Regions from separate parts of the Homo sapiens genome. Here region 2 is linked to region 1. Evidence: promoter capture Hi-C in human tissues and cell types (Jung and others, 2019). All regions are on one chromosome and are shown on one strand. Each heading gives the region's core, a stretch centred on a gene start or on the middle of the fragment in contact. The rest is flanking DNA. Distances are from core to core; before and after follow the strand shown. Region 1 holds the start of PROKR2 (prokineticin receptor 2). Region 2 overlaps LOC107985411 (a long non-coding RNA gene).

Region 1 (5,133 bases), core at 319-2,818:
CCAGCCTCCCCGCGCTGCTGTGAACAACCATGAGGCATGTTCTACACGGTCTGCAGGTCAACTGGAGTGAGCCGCAGTGGCACCCTGCTCGTTAGCATATCGTGTATGGGCCCTTCTCCCTTCCCTGCCTCACTTCCCCTCCCCCTGTGTGTGCTTCCCGGGATCTGCTCCCAATAAACTACCTGCACTCAGGTCTTTGTCTGGGAGTCTCCTTGGGGGAAACCTAAACTAAGACAACTCCCCGTAGCACTCTGTTGCACTGTTTTCTAAGCACCCACTGTCTCCCTGGGGACCACATGTCCATCCCCAGAAAAAGCTCCTACTCTGCTGAGGGTGGTCAGGACTTGGAGTTACTACAGCGACATCTGTGGGTCGCCAGATCTGTGTGGAAGCAACCATGCCTTAACTCATCTCAGAGGATTCCATGAAAGCACCAGCGGGCAGATGGTCCCAGGGGTCTGTTTGCCCCCATTGAATAGGGCAGGCATGGTCCATGAGCGAAGAAGCCTCTAGCTGAAGTTGGTAAGTATGCACTATTGCAAAGAATGTGTCCAGGGCGTACAACTGGCCACCCCATCATCTCCCCCACTCAAGCAACAGAGCTTTTTTGCCTCCATATCTGGAAGTTGCCCTGAGCATGTAGAACACCTGCCCAATCGCAGCCCCTCCCCAGGAGGAAAGCAAACAGCTGGCTCTCTTGCCTTTGATCATGCGGGAGAGATGCTAAGAGGTAGGGAGAGTGGGGTCAGGTTCCAGGTAAGGTGGGAAAAGCAGAATCACAGAATGTCACAACCTGAAGGAGTTTGAAGTTCATTTATCCAAAAATTTTTAATTGGCAGCCTTGTGGACTGTGTTCAGTCTGAGACAGGTTCTCTTTGACCAAAACAAGATTTTTGCTTTAACGAACCCAAAGACTATTTTTAAAGTTCTCGAATTCCAGATTCTCTTGAAAACAATGGGAAGCTCTGACAAAGTGGAGTCCATGTTCCCACCTGCCAATAATCCGCTGGCTGGGGTTTAACGATGGGGAACACCTTTTTAGACCTTCAGGGTCCTGCCACAGGTTCAATCCTGTATGCCCAGAGCTTCCTGGGCACCAGTCATTTGAATGGGCAGTTCCTGTGTTTAACCAGGAAGGTCGTGGGAGGATTTCGAACCTGTCAGAAGCAAAGTGAAGGGCTCCAGACTCTCCGGACAGATGGGCTGAGGCACTCCTGGGATTGTCTTTATACGGCCATGGAATCTGATAGTGGTGGTCATCGCAAAGTTTGGGTGAGGACTTCAGGGGCTTTGAGCAGAGCAAACTGTCCCCATCCCCAGCTTCCTCCTGGGGGCCTCCTCCTTCACCGCCATCTCCAAAGGCCCACACCGCACTCGTCGGAGCCGGGCTTTCCTTGAAAGGGTCACCTTCTAGTGGGCGCGGACGCTGGCACTGGGCACCTCCGGAAGACAGGACTCTCCCCTCCTGCGCGCGCGACCCGGGTGCGGTGCCACGACTGGCGGCAGAGGGCGGTGCTCACTGTTCCCAAGCGCACGGTAGAAACCCGGCTACTGTGTGGTCCGATTCAGACGGGATGCGAAGGCGCTGAAATCCGTGCGAGAGGCTGCCCCCGCTGCCGGGGACTCGCGTCAGCGCGGCCGGAGCTACGGTGCCCGCGCCCTGGACGCACCAGCCCGAGAGCACGCGGTGGGGTGGGGGAGCTGGGCATCCACCCTTGGCCTGGACTAGGAGGCAGGCGGGGACCCCGGGGCGGAGTCCAGCGCGGGGCGGGGCGCACAGGTCCGAGACGCTGGAAAGAGCTGTGGGGCCGGAGCGCCAACTCCAGCTGGAACCCAGAGACCCTGACACGCCGGAGGAGCCCGCCGGGGCGAGGAAAAAAGAGGGACATCCCCCACGCAGCGGCTCTGCAAGTGCAAGTCCGGGTCCTCGAGGTGAAAACCGAGCGGCCCGCCTGCGCCCAACCACACTGTGACTCTCGATCCGGCTTCCGGAGCAGCAGAGCGCACAGAAAGGAGGCGCCGAGACAGGTAAGGGCTTAGATCCCTGCAGTCCCGGGACTCAGTCGGTGCGGTGGGGGAGTCGCTAGGACAAGGGCCTCTGACGCCCACTTTTTTCTCGGGCATTCCGGCTGCTTTGCCTCCCGCCACTCTCGAGATATGCGTCGGGGCTGGCTCCAAGCAGGCGAGTTGGTTTCAGGAGATCCCCTCTGGGCCCTCTAGGACCGGGTAGGGTACGGTAAGCGGAGTCTGTGGTGTGCGGGCGCGGGCAGAGGGAGCCAGCGGGTAGCTGAGCTCGCGGACGAGCTCCAAATTGCAGGGGAGGGTGCAGGTAGAGGGGCACCTTCCTGAAAGGTGAGCAGGAAACAGCAAGCGTCCGTGGGGAAATTCCCGCGCACCGCATCCTCCACCCACCCGCCGTTTTCTTCCAGCCAGGAGGCACCGCAGCCTTTGCTTCTAGAGCCTGAATTTCTGACTTGATTCCTGTCTTTGCCAGGATGTCGCCTCTAGACGCCGACAGTGCGGCCGCGTTGATGGGGCGGGAAGGGGGCTGCTGGAACGGGTCGCTCCCGGGCGGGGAGTGCAATCTACGAAAATGCGGCTGGGACCTGTCCCAGCCCGGGCGCGCGCCCTCTTGTCTTGGGTTAGGGGGCTGGAAAGCCGAGGAGGGGTAGGACTCCCCATTCTTGGTCCCACGCTGAGCAGAGGCTGCGGGGATTGGGGTGTCGCATGAGACGGAGGGGCGACCTGGAGAGAAGACACCTCCGGGTGTGGACGCCACTGGGATTTGCATCTCGCCTCTTGGAGGTTTTCACCTTGGGAAAGCAGCTGGCGGGCGCACCCCAGGTTAGGGTGTCTTTTGCTGGCGCGCAGTTCCTGTCCCTCGGCGTTCTCCTCCCCTCGCAGGAGTGGACCAAATGCATTGTTCAGCTGGGTCATCTCCTTGCTACCCAGCATCCCGCGGCGCCCACATGTGGAGTCGTTTCCAGGTGTGCTGAGAGGCGAGGGGAAGGCCACTCACAGCTGGACAGCCAGGGCCCCTTTCTATAGGTGTTGGGATCTGGGCTCTTTTTCCAGCCCCTCGGTGAAGCCTTGTACCCTGGGGTGCCCTATCTCCTGCGGGCTGAGGGCTTCAGAGACTATTTTCCCTATTTTGAGACCTTGGTGACAGGACATGGTGCCTTTCAGGCAGGGTTGACTCTGGGTGGAGAACTAGGGCCAAGTGAAGGAGGTCAGAGAGCAGATCCAAAGTTGGAGTAGGGTGGGAAGGGCGGCAGAGGATTTCTTTCTGGAGCTGGTTCCCACAGAACGGGGAGCAGCAGGGGAATTCCCCTCCCCCACCCCACCACCACCTCCTCCACCTACAGCGCCCTGGTCATGCACTCAACAGATGTCTGTCTAGCCCCCACTATGCACCAGGCACTGGACTGGGCAGCAGGAATTTGGTTTACAGGAAGATTAGGACTCAGAGAGCATAAATCACTGGCCCAGGGTGACTCAGTCTGTCCATGTGAAAGTGAACTTGGTGATTTCCAAGTCTATGGCTTGGTCAGTACAGAAGGAGTGGTGTCCTGCTTTGGAGAGAAGACCCCGCAGCATCCTGGCCCTCCTGCTTCATTGTCCCTGGCCAACAGGTGCCACAACGTTGTGACAGCTGTAGGAGCCTGGCCAGCTCATGGGAGCATCCTTGGAAATGTTCCAGAAGCCCCTGTGGGAGCTGATGTGTTGGGGGCTGGAGGATGTGACTGGGCAGACAAAGAGGCCCTGGCCCCTGGGCAAAGGGCAAAGGTGCACATTCTTCTTGAGAGTTCTGGACAGTCTGATCCATCCTATGCTGTCCTTCCTGACAGCTGGGCAGCCACGGAGGGTTTCCCAACTTACAGATCTCAGGTCTCCTCTCCCCGCATCCCGGGTAGTTCCATCTGGTTAGGCAGTGGGTCTGGTTGGCCTATACTTGGGGAACTCAGGGAATGTGACCAGATGTTCTCCTGCATGTTGCCCACTGGTTGTGCCTCCTTCCAGGATCCAGGACGGTGAGTCAACTCTCCCCAAGGATGTGGGCAGGGTGCTAGGCTCACTGACCCTGAAAGAGCAGAAGGTCTGGACCCTCACCCCTCGCACCTCCCTCACACCACTTTTCTTGCAGACATCACCATGGCAGCCCAGAATGGAAACACCAGTTTCACACCCAACTTTAATCCACCCCAAGACCATGCCTCCTCCCTCTCCTTTAACTTCAGTTATGGTGATTATGACCTCCCTATGGATGAGGATGAGGACATGACCAAGACCCGGACCTTCTTCGCAGCCAAGATCGTCATTGGCATTGCACTGGCAGGCATCATGCTGGTCTGCGGCATCGGTAACTTTGTCTTTATCGCTGCCCTCACCCGCTATAAGAAGTTGCGCAACCTCACCAATCTGCTCATTGCCAACCTGGCCATCTCCGACTTCCTGGTGGCCATCATCTGCTGCCCCTTCGAGATGGACTACTACGTGGTACGGCAGCTCTCCTGGGAGCATGGCCACGTGCTCTGTGCCTCCGTCAACTACCTGCGCACCGTCTCCCTCTACGTCTCCACCAATGCCTTGCTGGCCATTGCCATTGACAGGTGAGGATGGTGGGTGGGGTGAGTGGTGGGGCTGGGCCAGGCTGTCTCTTTCCTCATTTAGGCTCTGACAGGCTGACATTGCTCCAGATAGGAATGCTCACCAATCTTTGGAGGGCAAGAGGAGGTCTTGTTTCTCCAGTTGAGTTCTGTTCCCCCAGATGTGAGCAAGACTGGGGCTGCTGAGTGGCCCATCTCTGGGCCATGCCCCCAGATACCACATGTGCTTCAGATACAGGCATGCCACATGACAGTATGTGGCACCAACACAAAGGGAAAGCAGAAAGGGCAGGCAGCTACTACCTAGAAGCCACATGAGAGTTAACTAGGGCAGCTTCCAGTCAGGAAAACATGTACTAGGCTTTTCCTGTAGCCACCCTCCAGGTGGAGATGTGAAACATTTCCATCAGCTAGAGAACCTTCTGTGCTCCTCACCAGTCAATCCTCCCCCACCAGGCAACCACCAATCTGATTTCTATCATTACAGTTCAGTTTCACCTGTTCTTTAATGTCATAAAAAAACATA
Region 2 (5,052 bases), core at 1,072-3,571, 150 kb before region 1:
AGCCCAGATCCCATGCCTGCCGAGGGCAAGCCAGATGCAGAAAGGCGAAGGGTGTGTGAGTGAGCAAGTGCGGAGTGTGGCCCCTGCACACAGCCAGGCACGCCAACTGCCGCAGCAGGGCGGACGGCTCCAGGCACCGGCATAGGCACTGGCTCCATGCAAGGCTGCGGCTGGAGCAGGCATACTACAAGCGGCTTCTCCTGCAGTTGCCAGCATCTGGATGAAGGGAATGTGGTGGCTCCTGAAAACCTGGAGATGCCAGCAACTGCAGATCCTCTACGGGTTGGGGGTGCATGTTACAGCTCTCTCATTCCCACCACCCGCAGCGCGACAGCATGGCAAACAGCGGTGGGAGGCAATGTGTTTCAGCCCATTTGTGTTACGGCTTGTTCAATCCCATCACCCCAACTCCAGCCCACAGCTCCTGGGCTGGCCTGCCCCGCCACTGCTTCCTGTCACATCTGGCAGCCGCCCAGCACTGGTGGAGGGCGGGAGGGCTATAGTGTTACAGCTCTGGCTTGGGAATTCTGAGGTCTGCGTCCCCAGAAGGGTCACCACTCTTCACTCCCACAGTTTGGTGAACAGGGAAGCATATCACGACCTGCAGCTCAGTGAGCTGGCCAGGAAAGTGTTACAGCCCTTTTTGTGCACTCTGTTCGCAGGTCCTGAGTTGTTATCGCAAGTCCAGGAAGAATGAGGTTACTCAGGCAACTGGAGGGTGAGGATGGAGAAGAGCTTTATTGAGCAACAGAACAGCTCTCAGCAGAGAGGAGACCCAAAGTGGGTAGCTCCTACCTGCAGGAAGGTAATCCCAATGTGTGTCTGAGTCCTGCTGAGTCTAGGGGTTATTATAGGTGCAGAATGGAGGAAGTGCATGCTGATTGGTCCATGAGTGGGAGGAAGTGCATGCTGATTGGTTCAAGGGTAGGTCCAAAAAACCAGTCACCATCAACTGGCTGAAAGGCATCAAGGAAATTCTTACTCCCAGTCAGGGACTCCACCTGGAACTGGCAGCTTGGCCTCCAGGCTTCAGGCCATCCCTGGTTTGAAGGTTGGGCCTCACCAGGGACCCACCCCTTCCCACCTAGGTACCTGTCTGCCTCCTGCCACCATCACTATTGTTAAATCTCAGGGTGGAAGGCATGAGGGGTGGGCAATGGGAAGTGTAAATTTGTGAATTATCACTTTGGCTAAGTGAATGACTTAGTTTACAGTAATCTGTCATCCTATTTTATGATATCAAGTGTTTTGAACCTTTGATATTAGACAAACTTTTCAAAATCAAAGCTTCAAGTTCTAAATTTAGTCTTTTTGACCTTAAACTAACCTTTTAGATATTAATGTCCCTGAAAGTCCAAGAGAGACGTATTGGGTTTATTTGGTATGTTAAAATCCTAGAGAAAGCCTTGTCAAATATGAAACAGTGTTTGCCTTTCCTTGGATTATATTTTATGGGTGTTATTAATATGTCTTCCAAAATTGTATGAGATACATATAATTCTGATGTCTTAATGTATGTTATTAGTAATAATTATAATTATTATGTTAAATTTTTTTCTGTTACAGAAGTAATCAAATTTTCTTGCCAATTGTGTCTTTAACCATGGCTGATCTAAGACTGTTGCCATCCACAGACAATTATTGTTTTACTTTTTGATTCTTCTCAAAAAGAGGTTCATAATCAGCTGTAGACCAAAATTTGCTTCTATATGGAAATTCATGGAAAAGACTCTGACAAGTATTCTTAAATACAGGTTTCTGAAGGGGGCCAAGATGGCCCAATAGGAACAGCTCCAGTCTGCAGCTCCCAGAAAGACCAACGCAGAAGGCAGGTGATTTCTGCATTTCCAACTGAGGTACCCAGTTCATCTCACTGGGACTGGTTAGGCAGTGGGTCCAACCCACAGAAGGCGAGCAGAAGCAGGGTGGGGTGTCACTTTGCCCAGGAAGTGCAAGGAGCTGGGGGACCTCCCTCCTCAAGCCAAGGGAAGCCATGAGGGACTGTGCTACCTGGGACAGGTTACTACACTTTTCCCATGGTTTGTATAATCTGCAGATCAGGAGATTCCTTCGTGTGCCTACACCAACAGGGCCTGGGATTTCAAGCAGAAAACACAAGTGGCTGTTTGGGCAGACGCCAAGCTAGCTGCAGGAGTTTGTTTTTCCTATCCCAGTGGCATCTGGAACCCCAGCAAGACAGAACTGTCCACTGCTCTGGAAAGGGGGCTGAAGCCAGGGAGCCATGTGGTCTCGCTCAGTGGGTCCCACTCCCACGGAGCCCAGCAGGCTAAGAACCACTGGCTTGAAATTCTCGCTCCCAGCACAGCAGTCTGAGGTCGACCTGGGACAACTGAGCTTGCTGTGGGGAGGGGCATCTGCCATCACTGAGGCTTTAGTAGGCGGTTTTCCCCTGACAGTGCTAAGGAGGCTGGGAAGTCTGGGCTGGTTGCAGCAAAGCAGCTGTGGCCAGACTGCTTCTCTAGATTCCTCCTCACTAGGTAGGGCATCTCAGGGGAAAGGTAACAGCCCCAGTCAGGGGCTTACAGACAAAACCTCCATCTCCCTAGGACAGAGCACCTGAGGGAACGGGTGGCTGTGGGTGCAGCTTCAGCAGATTTAATCGTTCCTGCCTGCCAGCTCTGAGGAGAGCAGCTGATCCTGATGAGAGGGATTCTCCCAGCATAGTGCACCAGCTCTGCTAGGGGACAGACTGCCTCCTCAAGTGGGTCCCTGATCCCCGTGCCTACTGACTGAGAGAGACCTCCCAACAGGGGTTGACAGACACCTCATACAGAAGAGCTACAGCCGGCATCAGGCTGTGGGACAAAGCTTCCAGAGGAAGGAGCAGGCAGCTATCTTTGCTGTTCTGCAGCCTCCACTGGTGATACCCAGGCAAACAGGGTCTGGAGTGGACCTCTAGCAAACTGCAGCAGACCTGCAGAAGAGGGGCCTGACTGTTAGAAGAAAAACTAACAAACAGAAAGCAACAACATCAACATCAACATAAAGGACCCCCACACAAAAACCCCATCAAAAGGTCATCAGTCTCAAAGATCAAAGGTAGATAAATCTAGAAAGATGAGGAAAAACCAGTGCAAAAATGCTGAAAATTCCAAAAATCAGAATGCCTCTTGTCCTTCAAATGATTGCAACTCCTGTCCAGCAAGGGCACAAAACTGGACAGAGAATGAGATTGATGAATTGACAGAAGCAGGCTTCAGAAGGTGGGTAATAACAAACTCCTCAGAGCTAAAGGATCATGTCCTAACCAATGCAAGGAAGCTAAGAACCTTGGTAAAAGGAACTGCTAAGTAGAATAACCACTTTAGAGAGGAACATTAATGACCTGATGGAGCTGAAAAACATGGCATGAGAACTTTGTGAAGCATACACAAGTATCAATAGCCGAATCGATCAAGCAGAAGAAAGGATATCAGAGACTGAAGATCAACTTACTGAAATAAGGCATGAAGACATGATTAGAGAAAAAGGAACGAAAAGGAATAAACAAAGCCTCCAAGAAATATAGTACTATGTGAAAAGATCAAACCTATGATTGATTGGAGTTCCTGAAAGTGACAGGGAGAATGGAAGACACACTTCAGGATATTATCCAGGAGAACTTTCCCAACCTAGCAAGACAGGCCAACATTCAAATTCAGGAAATACAAAGAATATCACTAGGACGGTCCTTGAGAAGAGCAACCCCAAGACACATAATCGTCAGATTCTCCAAGGTTGAAATGAAGGAAAAAATGTTAAGGGCAGCCAGAGAGAAAGGTCAGGTTACCTACAAAGGGAAGCCTATCAGACTAACAGTGGATCTCTCGGCAGAAACCCTACAAGCCAGAAGAAAGTGGGGGGCAATATTCAACATTCTTAAAGAAAAGAATTTTCAACCCAGAATTTCATATCCAGCCAAACTAAGCTTTATAAGCAAAGGAGAACTAAAACCCTTTCCAGACAAACAAATGCTGAGGGATTTTGTCACCACCAGGCCTGCCTTACAAGAGCTCCTGAAGGAAGCACTAAATATGGAAAGAAAAAACTGGTGCCAGCCACTGCAGAAACACACCAAAATATAAAGACCAATGACACTATGAAGAAACTGCATCAATGAATGTGCAAAATAATCAGCTAGCGTCATGATGACAGGATCAAATTCACACATAACAATATTAACCTTAAATGTAAATGGGCTAAATGTCCCAATTAAAAGGCGCAGACTGGAAAATTGGATAAAGAGTCAAGACCCATTGGTGTGCTGTATTTAGGAGACCCAACTCACATGCAAAGACACACATAGGCTCAAAATAAACGGATGGAGAATATTTACCAAGCAAATGAAAATTTAAAAAAAGCAGGAGTTGCAATCCTAGTCTCTGATAAAATGGACTTTAAACCAACAACGATCAAAAAAGATAAAGAAGGGCATTACATAATGGTAAAGGGATCAATGCAACAAGAGCTAACTATCCTAAATATATATGCAACCAGATTCATAAAACAAGTTTTCAGAGACCTACAAAGAGACTTAGACTTCCGCACAATAATAGTGGAAGACTTTAACATCCCACTGCCAATATGTTAGACAGATCAACAAGACAGAAAACTGACAAGGATATTCAGGACTTGAACTCAGCTGTGGACCAAGTGGACCTAATAGACATCTACAGAACTCTCCACCCCAAATCAACAGAATATACATTCTTCTCAGTGCCACATAGCATTTATTCTAAAATGACCACATAATTGGAAGGAAAACACTCCTCAGCAAATGCAAAAGAACAGAAATCATAACAGTCTCTCTGACCACAGTGCATCAAATTAGAACTCAGGATTAAGAAACACATTCAAAACCACACTACTACATGGAAATTGAACAACTGCTCCTGAATGACTACTGGATAAATAATGAAATGAAGGCAGAAATAAAGAAGTTCTTTGAAACCAATGAGAACAAAGAGACAACATACCAGAATCTCTAGGACACAGCTAAAGCAGTGTTAAGAGGGAAATTTATAGCACTAAATGCCCACATCAGAAAGCTGG

The links. The method cuts DNA at HindIII sites, captures the fragments that hold promoters and counts their contacts. A contact is called where the count stands out against the background at its distance.
Region 2: a fragment that was not itself captured here is called in contact with the fragment with the promoter of PROKR2 in region 1 in 2 of the 25 tissues and cell types used here (H1 embryonic stem cells and IMR-90 fibroblasts).

Annotation. Positions count from the first base shown.
Region 1 is chr20:5,313,389-5,318,521 of GRCh38, reverse strand. It overlaps PROKR2 (prokineticin receptor 2), which reads left to right and starts at 1,568. Exons shown (of 3, transcript NM_144773.4): 1 at 1,568-2,028; 2 at 4,145-4,610. The coding sequence starts at 4,153. The HindIII fragment of the contact is 13,355 bases long and covers 1-5,133 here.
Region 2 is chr20:5,460,540-5,465,591 of GRCh38, reverse strand. It overlaps LOC107985411 (a long non-coding RNA gene), which reads left to right. Exons shown (of 3, transcript XR_001754485.1): 2 at 663-805; 3 at 1,567-1,846. Among named protein-coding and RNA genes, the nearest start is that of LINC00658, 17 kb to the right of the region's middle. The HindIII fragment of the contact is 5,081 bases long and covers 1-4,861 here.